Linked DNA regions of Homo sapiens: all the other regions are linked to region 1. The links are contacts of gene promoters, found by promoter capture Hi-C in blood cells and fetal thymus (Javierre and others, 2016). All regions are on one chromosome and are shown on one strand. Each heading gives the region's core, a stretch centred on a gene start or on the middle of the fragment in contact. The rest is flanking DNA. Distances are from core to core; before and after follow the strand shown.

Evidence for each region. Contacts are between HindIII fragments. The CHiCAGO score rates a contact against its expected background, and 5 or more counts as called.
Region 2: a fragment that was not itself captured here is called in contact with the fragment with the promoter of NAA10 in region 1 in 1 of 17 cell types (non-activated CD4 T cells); the score reaches 6.5 in non-activated CD4 T cells.
Region 3: a fragment that was not itself captured here is called in contact with the fragment with the promoter of NAA10 in region 1 in 5 of 17 cell types (non-activated CD4 T cells, naive B cells, naive CD4 T cells and 2 more); the score reaches 8.5 in non-activated CD4 T cells.
Region 4: the fragment with the promoter of LAGE3 here is called in contact with the fragment with the promoter of NAA10 in region 1 in 4 of 17 cell types (monocytes, neutrophils, total CD8 T cells and 1 more); the score reaches 8.2 in monocytes.

The regions. Positions count from the first base shown.
Region 1 is chrX:153,933,787-153,936,508 of GRCh38, forward strand. NAA10 (N-alpha-acetyltransferase 10, NatA catalytic subunit) reads right to left here and starts at 1,251. Exons shown (of 8, transcript NM_003491.4): 1 at 1,098-1,251; 2 at 591-689; 3 at 157-215. The coding sequence starts at 1,118. It overlaps RENBP (renin binding protein), which reads right to left. Exons shown (of 11, transcript NM_002910.6): 10 at 1,703-1,790; 11 at 1,483-1,618. The coding sequence ends at 1,500. RefSeq lists a silencer at 941-1,520 and enhancers at 1,511-2,016, 2,017-2,521. The HindIII fragment of the contact is 15,713 bases long and covers 1-2,722 here.
Region 2 is chrX:154,445,777-154,448,741 of GRCh38, forward strand. It overlaps FAM50A (family with sequence similarity 50 member A), which reads left to right. Exons shown (of 13, transcript NM_004699.4): 3 at 36-135; 4 at 639-784; 5 at 2,708-2,784; 6 at 2,914-2,965. Among named protein-coding and RNA genes, the nearest start is that of MIR6858, 3.1 kb to the right of the region's middle. The HindIII fragment of the contact is 2,108 bases long and covers 650-2,757 here.
Region 3 is chrX:152,953,472-152,956,187 of GRCh38, forward strand. The region is part of intron 18 of ZNF185 (zinc finger protein 185 with LIM domain); the gene reads left to right. Among named protein-coding and RNA genes, the nearest start is that of PNMA5, 39 kb to the right of the region's middle. The HindIII fragment of the contact is 5,746 bases long and covers 1-2,716 here.
Region 4 is chrX:154,477,883-154,480,645 of GRCh38, forward strand. LAGE3 (L antigen family member 3) reads right to left here and starts at 1,399. Exons shown (of 3, transcript NM_006014.5): 1 at 846-1,399; 2 at 401-529; 3 at 1-176. The coding sequence starts at 1,033. The coding sequence ends at 62. RefSeq lists a silencer at 793-1,012 and an enhancer at 1,274-1,773. The HindIII fragment of the contact is 14,076 bases long and covers 1-2,763 here.

The DNA.
Region 1 (2,722 bases), core at 1-2,500:
GCTGAGGGGTGCTATAAGAACTCCATGTCCTTTCTGTTCAATTTTTCTATAAACTTTCAACTGTACTGAAAAGAAGAAGCCTATTCATTTTTTTTAAAGCCCACAGAGGCATCCACCAGACACGTGTAGCTTCTGTCTTCCTCCTTGGTGACTCACATTTTGGCCAGGACATACCCCACAATCTTCCCATTCTCGTCCTCAGCAATGTAAGAGAGCTGGTGACAGGAAAACAGAGTGAGAAAACTTCTTGTCGGAGCTAGAAGAGCCCTTTAGAGGGACACAAACTGGACGAGTGGCGAGTTGTGTGATGGCTCATGACCTCCGGGCTGAGTGGCTTGGTCTCCCCCTCGCCACACTGTGCCCTGCCCATACCCAGAAAGAAGACGCAAAGTGGGGATCCTGCCCCTATTCTCTGCTCCCTTCGGGCGCCTTCTTTTCCTTTGCCCCTGTCTGCCAGCTGAAAACACCCAGGACGCCACCGACCATACAGCCCCCTGGGCTCTGACAGACTTGTCCACTCCCTCCAAGATGGCCAGATGGGATTTTCCTCGGCCTGCTTTCCCCCATGCCCAAATTCAGAAGCTGCCCACCTGGGGCCAGGAAAGGCCATGGTAGAAGTAGTATTTCATCTGGTAGTTCTCGGGCAGGCAGAGGAGGTTGCAGTGCTGCATGTTCATTAGGTCCTCTGGCTGCAGGGAAGGAGGGCAGTGGAACGCGCTCAGTCTAAGGCGGCGGTGACCACGGGTGAGAAGCCTGCTCCCCGTCGGTCTGCTCGGCCCCGCTCCCTCGGGGCTGGGCAGGCACTGTGACGATCTGACTTTGCACAACGCCCGGAGCACAGGAACAGGAGTGGGCGCCCCGGAGGTCCCCGGAGCCCACCCAACGGAGGCCCGACATCACGCAAACAGGAGGGAATCGCAGCCCCGGCCCCGCGCCCCGGCCTCTTCGGCGGGCTGGGCCAGCCCCATAGGTCCAGCGGCCGCAGGCACACTCAGGGCCACCGGGCCGGGCTCGGCCGGGGCCCTCGGGAGCATGCGCGGCAGCCACCCGGCCCGGCGCCCACGCGGCGCGGACAGCCTCCCGCCCCGGGCGCTCACCCTCGCATTGCGGATGTTCATAACGGCGGCGGGGCTCGCGGGTCCCAGCGGATCGTGAAGGCGCAGTCAGCTGCCGCCGCGCTCCGAAGCGACGCCGGGACGGCCGGGGCTGGGACCGGAGCTGGGCTCGCTGGGCGACGGCGGAAGGGGCGGTGCGCGCCGGGCCGGCCACCGGCCGGAAGTGCACGGCCGCCGGGCCCGTCCTCCCGGCCGCTTGGCCAATGCGCGGGACAGGCCAGCGCACGGGGCGGGCCAATGCGCGGAGCCGGTCAGCGCGGGGCGGGCCTGGGGGCGGGGCGGGCGCTGCCCCGGAGCTGGAGCCGGCCCCTCCCTCGGCGCGACAGCCCCCCTCCCGCGAGCCCACAGACGCGCGCACAGCCGCAGGTGGAGCGGACTCAGCCTTTATTCCGCGCCTCGGCAGGCGGGGGTGGGGGCGGGGGAGGGGGCGGGGGCGGGGCGGCTCAGCAGGGCGCCCAGCATCTCCTCGCACATGGCTAGGCACCGCGGCACGTGGAAGCAGCCTGCGGGTAGAGGCGGGCAGGTAGTGAGGGCCGGGGGCAGCCGAGAGGCGCAACCCCTGCGGCCCCGCCCTCTCCCCCACTCACCTTTGAAAGGACCTCCCTTGATGGAGAGGGCCACCTTGCCCTCTCGGCTCAGGTAGCCAAACCATTCCCCGTACTCGGGATCGCGAAACTGGAATAACAGAGACAGTGACAGCTAGCGCCTGCAGGACCCGCCCAGATGCCACTGCATCGCTACCAGGGGTCAGAGCCTGGGTTGACCCCAGGTGACGTGGCTCCAGAACCAGCGATCTTAACCGCGACACTGCGTCCTCCACAAAGATGAAAGCAGGGGTGGGCGCAGCAGGCAGGCTACAACTATATAACCGACTGGGCAAGGGGATGAGACACTGCTAGATGGAATGAAAGAACTCTGCCCTGGGGTGTAGAAACGTTGTCTATCGGGCCGGGAGCTGTGGCTTGCGCCTGTAATCCCAGCACTTTCGGAGGCCGAGGCGGGCGGATCACCTGAGGTCAGGAGTTCAAGATCAGCCTGGACAACATGGTGAAACCTCATCTCTACTAAAAATACAAAATTAGCCGGACGTGGTGGCACGCACTTGTAATCCCAGCAGTATACTCGGGAGGCTGAGGCGGGAGAATAGCTTGAACACAGGAGGCGGAGGTTGCAGTGAGCTGAGATCACGCCATTGCGCTCCAGCCTGGGTGACAGAGCGAGACTCCATCTCAAACAAACAAACAAACGAACAAACAAACAAACAAAAAAGTTCTCTATTGTGATTGTAGTCGTGGTTACGTTGATTCAAAGAAACAAAGAACCCGGCCGGGTGCAAAGGCTCACACCTGTAATCCCAGCACTTTGGGAGGCCGAGGCGGGCGGATCACAAGGTCAGGAGATCGAGACCATCCTGGCTAACACAGTGAAATCCCGTCTCTACTAAAATACAAAAAATTAGCCGGGAGTGGTGGCGGGCACCTGTAGTCCCAGCTACTCGGGAGGCTGAGGCAGGAGAATGGCGTGAACCCGGGAGGCGGAGCTTGCAGTGAGCCAAGATCGCGCCACTGCACTCCAGCCTGGGCAACAGAGCCAGACTCCGTCTCAAA
Region 2 (2,965 bases), core at 454-2,953, 510 kb after region 1:
GACTACCTTGCCCCTTGTGCCTCCTTGCTTCAAAGGTCTCGTGACCCTGAATGACATGAAGGCCAAGCAGGAGGCTCTGGTGAAGGAGCGGGAGAAGCAGCTGGCCAAGAAGGAGCAGTCCAAGGAGCTGCAGATGTGGGTCCTCTCGCCGCAGCCCTCAACATGGAGCTAGTGCTTACGGGGTCCCGTGGCTGGTCGGGCTCTTTTTGCACCCTGGGGGGGACCCTGTCTCCAGCTTTGGGACAGGGGTAGCATCTAGCTTGCGATTTGCATTTCTCTCTCCCGCCTCCTCGGGTCCACGCTCACGTCTTTTCACCATGGCGGCTTGTCTTCTTTCTGACCCTCTAAATGCAGTGGGCCCTTTCCCAGCATCCGGTGCCTGAGCAGCCTGCGTTCTCCCCATTGCCAGCCTGTGCTTGGCTCTCCCCTGTGGCCCTCTGTGCTTGCTGTTTGTAACAGAGCCCTCGCCCATGAGCTCAAAGTGATCCAGGACAGCAGGACCCGTCTGGGGCAATGGGGACCCAGCCTGGGCTGGGCAGGCCCCACATAGGGCACACAGGTGGCTCTGGGTCAAGGAAGGGGCTGGGTCAGGGTCGGGAAGGACATGATGTGTGATGGGGCCACCTGCACCTCACTAGGAAGCTGGAGAAGCTTCGAGAGAAGGAGCGTAAGAAGGAAGCCAAGCGGAAGATCTCCAGCCTGTCCTTCACCCTGGAGGAGGAAGAAGAGGGAGGCGAGGAGGAAGAGGAGGCGGCCATGTATGAGGAGGAGATGGAAAGGGAAGGTGAGGGCTGGCTTGAGTCGGAGCCCCGCCCGCAGCCCCTGGGGAGGGGTCCCCAATGTGAGAGGCTGTCAGCAAAGCTGATGCCCTGTCAAGATGGCTCCAAAAGCTGCCCTCTTGAGGCACCGCGCACAGTAGACCGGGGAGGGAAGAGGCTGGTCTAGACCAGGCTGGCTGGGCACATTTTCTGTGATGATGGAAATGTTAGAGTCTGTGCCACCCAATATGGTAGCCACTTGCCCCAGGTGCCTCGTATGACTGGGGCACTAAATGGTGAATTCTGTTTGATTTGTTTCAGCGTAAATGTATACAGCCACAGAAATTCCGAGGCTACTAGTCAGACACTGCAGGTCTCAGCTGTGAGAACAAGGGGCTGTCAGGGAAAGCTCAGGATGGCTGGGGAGTGAGGGTAAAGCCAGCCTGGCCTCCACGTGTGCCACACACCTGTGCTGTGCCTGGCCAGGGCACATAGGGTGCTGTCCCTCTCCTGGTGGAAGTCACGGGTCACCATGCACTGAAGACACTACTCAGGGTTACTGCTCTGCTTGGGGCCCACCGGGCTAACCCAGGGGTCAAGGAAGGAGGGGAGGGTTGAGTTAGGCCCTAAGGATGAGGGGAGTTGCATTCGCCAGAGAGGCAGGAGGGGCGACGAGAAAGTACATGCCAGAAGCCCAGCAGGAAAGAGCTTTTCAAAACGTTTGAAGATTGGGAGCAAGTTGTGTCACGGGCCCCTGGAGGGTGTGGTGGCAGTTCTGGAAATTGTGTCACCCAGGGAATGGCAGAGGGAGAGAAGCGAGGCAGGGGATGGTGCTGTGTGGCTGTGGTAACAGGCTGGGTGCCATGGCTTTGAGGGGAGTGCAGGATTGTAGGGAGGAAGAACCTGCCAGCCACCTGCCATTTGGGTTCCATGTTCCAGCAGCCACAGTAAAACATAGAAAAAGAAACAAGCAGGATTTTAGTATGACATTGTATTTAACCCAGCGTATCCAAAATATCACCATTGCGGCAGGCGCACTAGCTGCAATGCTGGGGTGCTGTGTGCAGCGGGAGCTACTGGTTTGTGTTTGTGTTTTTGTTTTGGTTGTTGTTGTTTTTGAGACAGTGTCTCCCTGTGGCCCAGGCTGGAGTGCAGAGGGGCGATCACAGCTTACTTCAGCCTTGACCTCCTGGACTCAAGGGACCCTCCCACCTCAGCCACTTGAGTAGCTGGGACTACAGGCGCTTTGTATTTTTGTATTTTTTGTAGAGACGGAATCTCGCCATGTTGCCCAAGCTGGTCTCGAACTTGGGAGCTACTGGCGTGGACAGTGCAGGCCTGGGGGAAAGGTTGTCACCCTCACTGTGTGTCACTGGGGCTTTTACAAAACACTGCTTGGTGGGCTCTTCCCTCCCTCCACAGGTTCCGTTTAGGGGGCCCAGCCACAAGACCCCAGGCTCTAGAATCTCTGCCCTTGAGCATCAGGCTAAAGAGTTTAGATTTGTCTTTTTTTGTTGTTCTTTTCTTTTTTTTCTTTCTTTTTTTTTTTTTTGAGATGAGGTCTCACTCTGTTGCCCAGGCTAGAGTGCAGTGGTTTGATCACGGCTCACTGCAGCCCCGACCTCGCAGGCTCAAGCGATCCTCCCACCTCAGCCTTCTGAGTAGCTGGTACTACAGGTGCGCCACCACACCCGGCTGATTTTTTTGAGTTTTAGTAGAGACGAGGTCTTGCTATGTTGCCCATGCTGGTCTCCACCTCCTGGGCTCAAGTGATCCTTCTGCCTCATCCTCCCCAAGTGTTGGGTTGACAAGCGTGAGCCTCTGTGCCCGCCCTAGGCTTGTCTTCTAGATCGACTGTTCTCAAGGTATGCTTGGGGGACCCTGGGCGTCGGCCATATCAAAATCATTTTTATAATAATGCTATGATATTCGGCTTCCTTTTGTTCCAGAGATCACCACGAAGAAGAGAAAACTGGGGAAGAACCCAGACGTTGACACAAGCTTCTTGCCTGATCGAGACCGTGAGGTAAAGGCTGCCTGGCCCTGACCCCGGCCTCGACTCCAGCCCTGGTGGAGACCCTTGCTTAGGGAGCCAGGCTCTGCGTGCACCCTGAGCAGCCCTGGGCCTCACCTGTCTGCCTGCTCCCTCTCCCAGGAGGAGGAGAATCGGCTTCGGGAAGAGCTGCGGCAGGAGTGGGAAGCCAAGC
Region 3 (2,716 bases), core at 121-2,620, 980 kb before region 1:
GATCACTTGAGCCCAAGGGTTCGAGACCAGCCTGGGTAACATAGCGAGACTCCTATATCTATAAAAATTTTAAAAATTAGCCAGGCATGGTGGTGTGTGCCTATAGTCCCAGCTACCTGGGAGGCTGAAGTAGTGGAGGATTGCTTGAGCCCAGGAGTTGAGGCTGCAGTGAACTATTATTGCACCACTGCACTCCAGCTTGGGTGACAGAGCGAGACCCTGTCTCAAAAACAAAAAACAAATATGGATTTAGATAGAGACTTTTATTTTATTTTATTTTATTATTTTTGAGACAGAGCCTTTCTCTGTCACCCAGGCTGGAGTGTAGGTGCCATCTCAGCTCACTGCAACCACCACCTCCCGGGTTTAAGCAATTCTCCCGCCTCAGCCTTCTGAGTAGCTGGAATTACAGGCGTGCGCCACCATGCCCAGCTAATTTTTCAATTTTTAATAGAGATGGGGTTTCGCCATGCTGGCCAGGCTGGTCTTGAACTCCTGACCCCAAGTGATTCACCCGCCTTGGCCTCTCAAAGTGCTGGGATTACAGGTGTGAGCCACCGTGCCCGACCAATACTTTATTTAAAAAGACTATTGCAATAGGGACAATGCTGCAACCTCAGGACTTGCAAACATCACAAAATAATACAAAAAACATCACAAAATAATAAAAAAAAAAAAGCCTTTTTTTTTCAGTAGGGAGTAGTAAGCACAGCTAGCAGCTCAGCTACTTTCAAGGGCCAGTGGGCAAGCAAAGGGGAACCTGTTTGGCATGATTTGACCAGAAATGTGTTTCCCTGTGGTCAGCCGGTTCTCAGGAGAAGCTGCTAAGTGGGGCATGTTCTGCATTGCAGCACTTACTTAACCAGGAGCAAGCAAAATTCAGGCCCTGTGGGGAGGACAGAAGCCTGCCTAACATTCTGTCAAGGCAAAGGAGAGGGTAAAAAGCAGACAGCTGTGAACACTTGATCATCCTTCAGGCAATAATCCATTCTGGGTTTCTGGCTTAAGACTCTTGAGAAACAAGGGGAAACAACTGGTAGGAGCAGCAGGCTCACCTATATGTAGTTCCGTGAGGTAGCCTTATGGACTTCTGCCACCTTCCAAAACTCAGCATGTCCCAAACCATCTTTATCAACACAGCTTCTCACCAAAAACAACCAAATAAAACAAATTAACTAATGTACTAATTCTGTATCTCCCCCTGTGTTGTTCATCTCAAAAAACTGTTATCACCTCATTGACTCAGACTCTCAACCAGCGAGGTAGAAGAAATGTTTGGGGGCATGTTAAATGTAACACCTATGAGACATGTAAGAGGTGAGGTGCAGGACGCAGGTACATGGTGATAAAAGAAAAACCTCAGCCGGATTAAATTTAAAGGAGTTTCATTGAGCAATGAACTATTTGTGAATCGGGCAGCCCCCAGAATCACAGCAGATTCACAGAGACTCCAGTGCAGCTACATGGTGGAAGATTTATAGATTAAAAAAAAGGTGGAGGGGGGGAAATGACGTACAGAAATTGGAAGTGAGGTACAGAACGGCTGGATTGGTTACAGGTTGGGGGTATGCCTTATTTGAACACAGTTTGAACACTCACCAGTGTATGAATGGTTGAAGTATGGCCGCTGGGATTGGCCAAGAGTTAGCTATTGTTACAGGTACACACTCCTAAGTTAGGTTTTCAATTTTGTCTGCCTCTAGGTTACAGTTTATTGACAAAGACTCAAATATAGAACTATGGAGTCCTTCTCAGGCCGTATTTAATTTGCTTTAACAATTCCCCCTTTTTGGTCATTTTCTCAACTTTGAGAGATTGACAAAAACCTTAGTTATTGATATCACTATTACCCTTGTAAATGTACTTATATGGTCTTGAAACCCACTGGGAAACAGGAGGACAGTGGGTTTTGTAAGGAGAGAATAAGGACTGAGTAGAAGGTACCTCTTTATGCTAGAATGTTCTGTTTACAGGACAAAAACAAAACCTGGTCTGTTTTAATAACTATTTGTTTCCTTAAAGTCTTAGTTTGATTATGTTACATTTAGCATGAGCAACTCCATTTTGTTTGGTTTGGTCTGTTGGGTCCTAGTGCATGAGCTCAGTACACAACAATGGCTTGCCAGAATTTTGTTTAAAAAATTCCCCTTGGCTGGGCGTGGTGGCTCATGCCTGTAATCCCAGCACTTAGGGAGGCTGAGGCGGGCAGATCACGAGCTCAGGAGATCGAGACCATCATGGCCAACATGGTGAAACCCTGTCTCTACTAAAAATACAAAAATTAGCCGGGCGCGGTGGCATGCGCCTGTAATCCCAGCTACTCGGGAGGCTGAGGCAAGAGAATCACTTGAACCTGGCAGTCAGAGGTTGCAGTGAGCCAAGATCACGCCACTGCACTCCAGCCTGGTGACAGAGCGAGACTCCACCTAAAAAAAAAAAAAAAAAATATTTCCCCTTATTGGCCAGGTTCTCACTTAGGTGAGAGTGTGACCAAAACTTAGGGCCTTAGCACCACTTTTAGTTACCTAGTTACCATCATTTTAGGTTTCCAGTCTCAGCATGTCATTCATAGGTTATGATGTCCTCATAATCATACATTTCAATCAGTTTTGTTATTCCAGTTGAAGAGAGACCATTTGACATTTCAGAGATGGCTGCATGCAAACATTTGAAACCTTTGAGAGAATACAGTGCACTGGGGAGACTACTATGACTA
Region 4 (2,763 bases), core at 149-2,648, 540 kb after region 1:
TGGACGCACTGCCTACAAGGAGACGCAAAGTGGGACCTCGCTCCATTTGCCCAGGCCAGGCTTAGCGGGAAACGGGGGGCCCAAAGCGCTGCATGGTCCGCACCACCAGGGAAAGCTGGTCAAGAAAGTTGATGACGGAAATTCGGAGCAGGCGACAGTCTTCAGCTTTCCAGCGGCTAAAAGTGAGGGGAAAAGAAAATCAAATTGGAGGTGGCAACTCCTGGTCCCTCGCTCTGCCCCTCAGGCACCCAATATAGCAAACCCTTGGGAGCCCTGCCATTACACAGCCCCTCAGGCAGAGACCGGCCCAGCGCACCTGGCGCTCCTTAGGGCTCATCCTTGGATGTCCCCCATGTCTCCATGGGCCGCCTCCCCCAACCCCGTCCCTTTCAGAACTTACACGACCAGGATCCTGCCACTCACTGTGAGATCCTTCCCAACCACCCTTTGGTGGGGCTCGGCATCTGGTGCCAGGGACCCATGGGCGATTTCCGCCTCCAAGGGGGTCGGGAAAGGCACGCTGAGGGTGCTGGGGGTCATTCGGTTAAGGTGCCATCTGATACGATCTTGCCTATGTCTCAGGCCTTCTTGCTCCTCTGAAGCCCCCTCTCAGGTCACCCTGCCTAGTGTCACCCCCTTCACTCCTTACCTCGCCCAGGCCACCGTTAGCAGAGCTTCTCCCTCCATTTCAATGTCTTCCCCTCCTCCGACCACCTCTGACCGTATACGCCAGCCCCGGTCCCCCCCTGCTACCCTTTCCGTCGGCCCCCCGCCCGCCCTCCTTTCCTTCTCCCCGAGTCCAGCCCTCGCTCCGCCGCAAGCAGCCCCCAGCTCGGAAAGGATACAATATGTGCGGCCGCATTCGTGACCCCCTGGCCGCAGACGCGGCGTCTCTGCCCGGACCTGGCGCGTGCGCTGGGGGAGCTCCACCGGCCGGAGCTGCGGCTGTGTCCACGCCCCCGCGGCAGCTGTGGCCACCCCGGCCATCCCCGCCGTCAGCGCCTCCGCCTGCGTCTGCATCCGCGTCCCGCATGACCGCCGCCGCGCCGCTCCGACTCCACCCCCGAAGCGCAGGTCCTACGCCCCGCCCTCTCTGTGGCTCCTTCCCGAAGCCCCGCCCCCTGCGCACGACTCCGCCCACACGCGCCTGCGCAGGTCCCTGGAGAGCCTGACTGGCGCGTGGTCAGTTCCCGCCAAGCGGCCCTGCCGGGGGCCTTCTGAGACCCGGTCAGCGGTTGAGAGGCTGCGGTTTCCTCCAGAAACTCTGCCCTTTCGCGCGTAACTCGATTCCAGAGCGCTGGTGCAAACTGACCCACAGTCGGTCCGGCCCCAGGAAGCCAACCCTGACGGGGCTTTTGAAGACACCGTGGTCGCCTATCCCAGAGGCGCACCCCGCGAGGCTCCGCCCCTAAGCGCGCCTTGTGACCTTAGCGCGCCTGCGCTGGCGGGGCCTTCCCCCTTGTCCCTGGAGGCCCCAGTGAGGCCCTGCGGTGCCTGGACGGCTTCCCGCCCCGTTTCTTACCTGGACCCAAGAGCCCCAGGAGATGTGGCACAACGTCCATGTTGCGATTCGCAGAGGGAGGGTGGCCGGGTCGGGTAACCCCCAAGGATACTGCTCTTGCCCTCAACCCCAGTGCCCAACCAACGGGGCTTCACCATGGACTGTGAAGCATCGGATGTGCATTTTAGAGGAAGCATTTTAGAGCGGGTGGGCTGTGCAGAGCGGGGGAGCCTGTCAGCAGGAGGCCTGCACGGAGGCGAAAAATGACAGGGCCTTGAATGAAAGTACTGGCGGTGGGTCTAGGTCTAATATAACGTGAAAAATCAGACTGCACAACTATGAGTATGAAAATGCCAGTTTAGGCCAGGCAAAGTGGCCCCCGCTTGGAATCCCAGCACTTTGGAAGGCCAAGGGAGGAGGATCACTTGAGCCCAGGAGTTCAAGACAAACACAGGCAACATAGTGAGACCCCGTCTCTACAAAAAATACAAAAATAAATTTTAAAAGTTAGCTGGGAGTGGTGGAGCGTGCCTGTAGTCATAGCTTCTTGGAGGCTGAGGAGGGTTGATTGCTTGAGCCCGGGAGTTCGACACCAGCCTGGGCAACATAGTGAAACCCTGCCTCTACAAAAAATACAAAAATTAGCTGGGTGTGATGGTGCACACCTGTGGTCCCAGCTACTAGGGAGGCTGAGATGGGAGGACAGCCTGAGCCCGGGAGGCAGAGGCTGCAGTTAGCCGTGATCGCCCCACCGCACTCCAGCCTGGTTGATAGAGCCAGACCCCGCCTCAAAAAATAAAAGAAAATGCCAACTTAGTCTCTTACTGTACATATGTAGAGAAATCCTAGAACAATACAGCGTCAGGTAAATCCTCATGATCTCTGCTAATAGTATGGTGGGTGACTTTAATTTCCTTTTTGTGTTTTCCCTCCAATTTTTCCGAAGTGGTCTTTTATGACATTTACAATAAAAAAAAAAGTATTTAAAGTGACATCAGTCCGGGCACGGTGGCTCACGCCTATAATCCCAGTACTTTGGGAGGCCGAGGCGGGTGGATCACTTGAAGTCAGGAGTTCAACACCATCCTGGCCAACATGGTGAAACCCCCGGCCCTACTAAAAATAACAAAAATTAGCTGCGTGTCGTGGTGTGCGCCTGTAGTCCCAGCTATTCGGGAGGCTGGGACAGAAGAATCACTTGAACCCGGGAGGTGGAGGTTGTGGTGAGCCGACATCACGCCACTGCACTCCAGCCTGGGCGA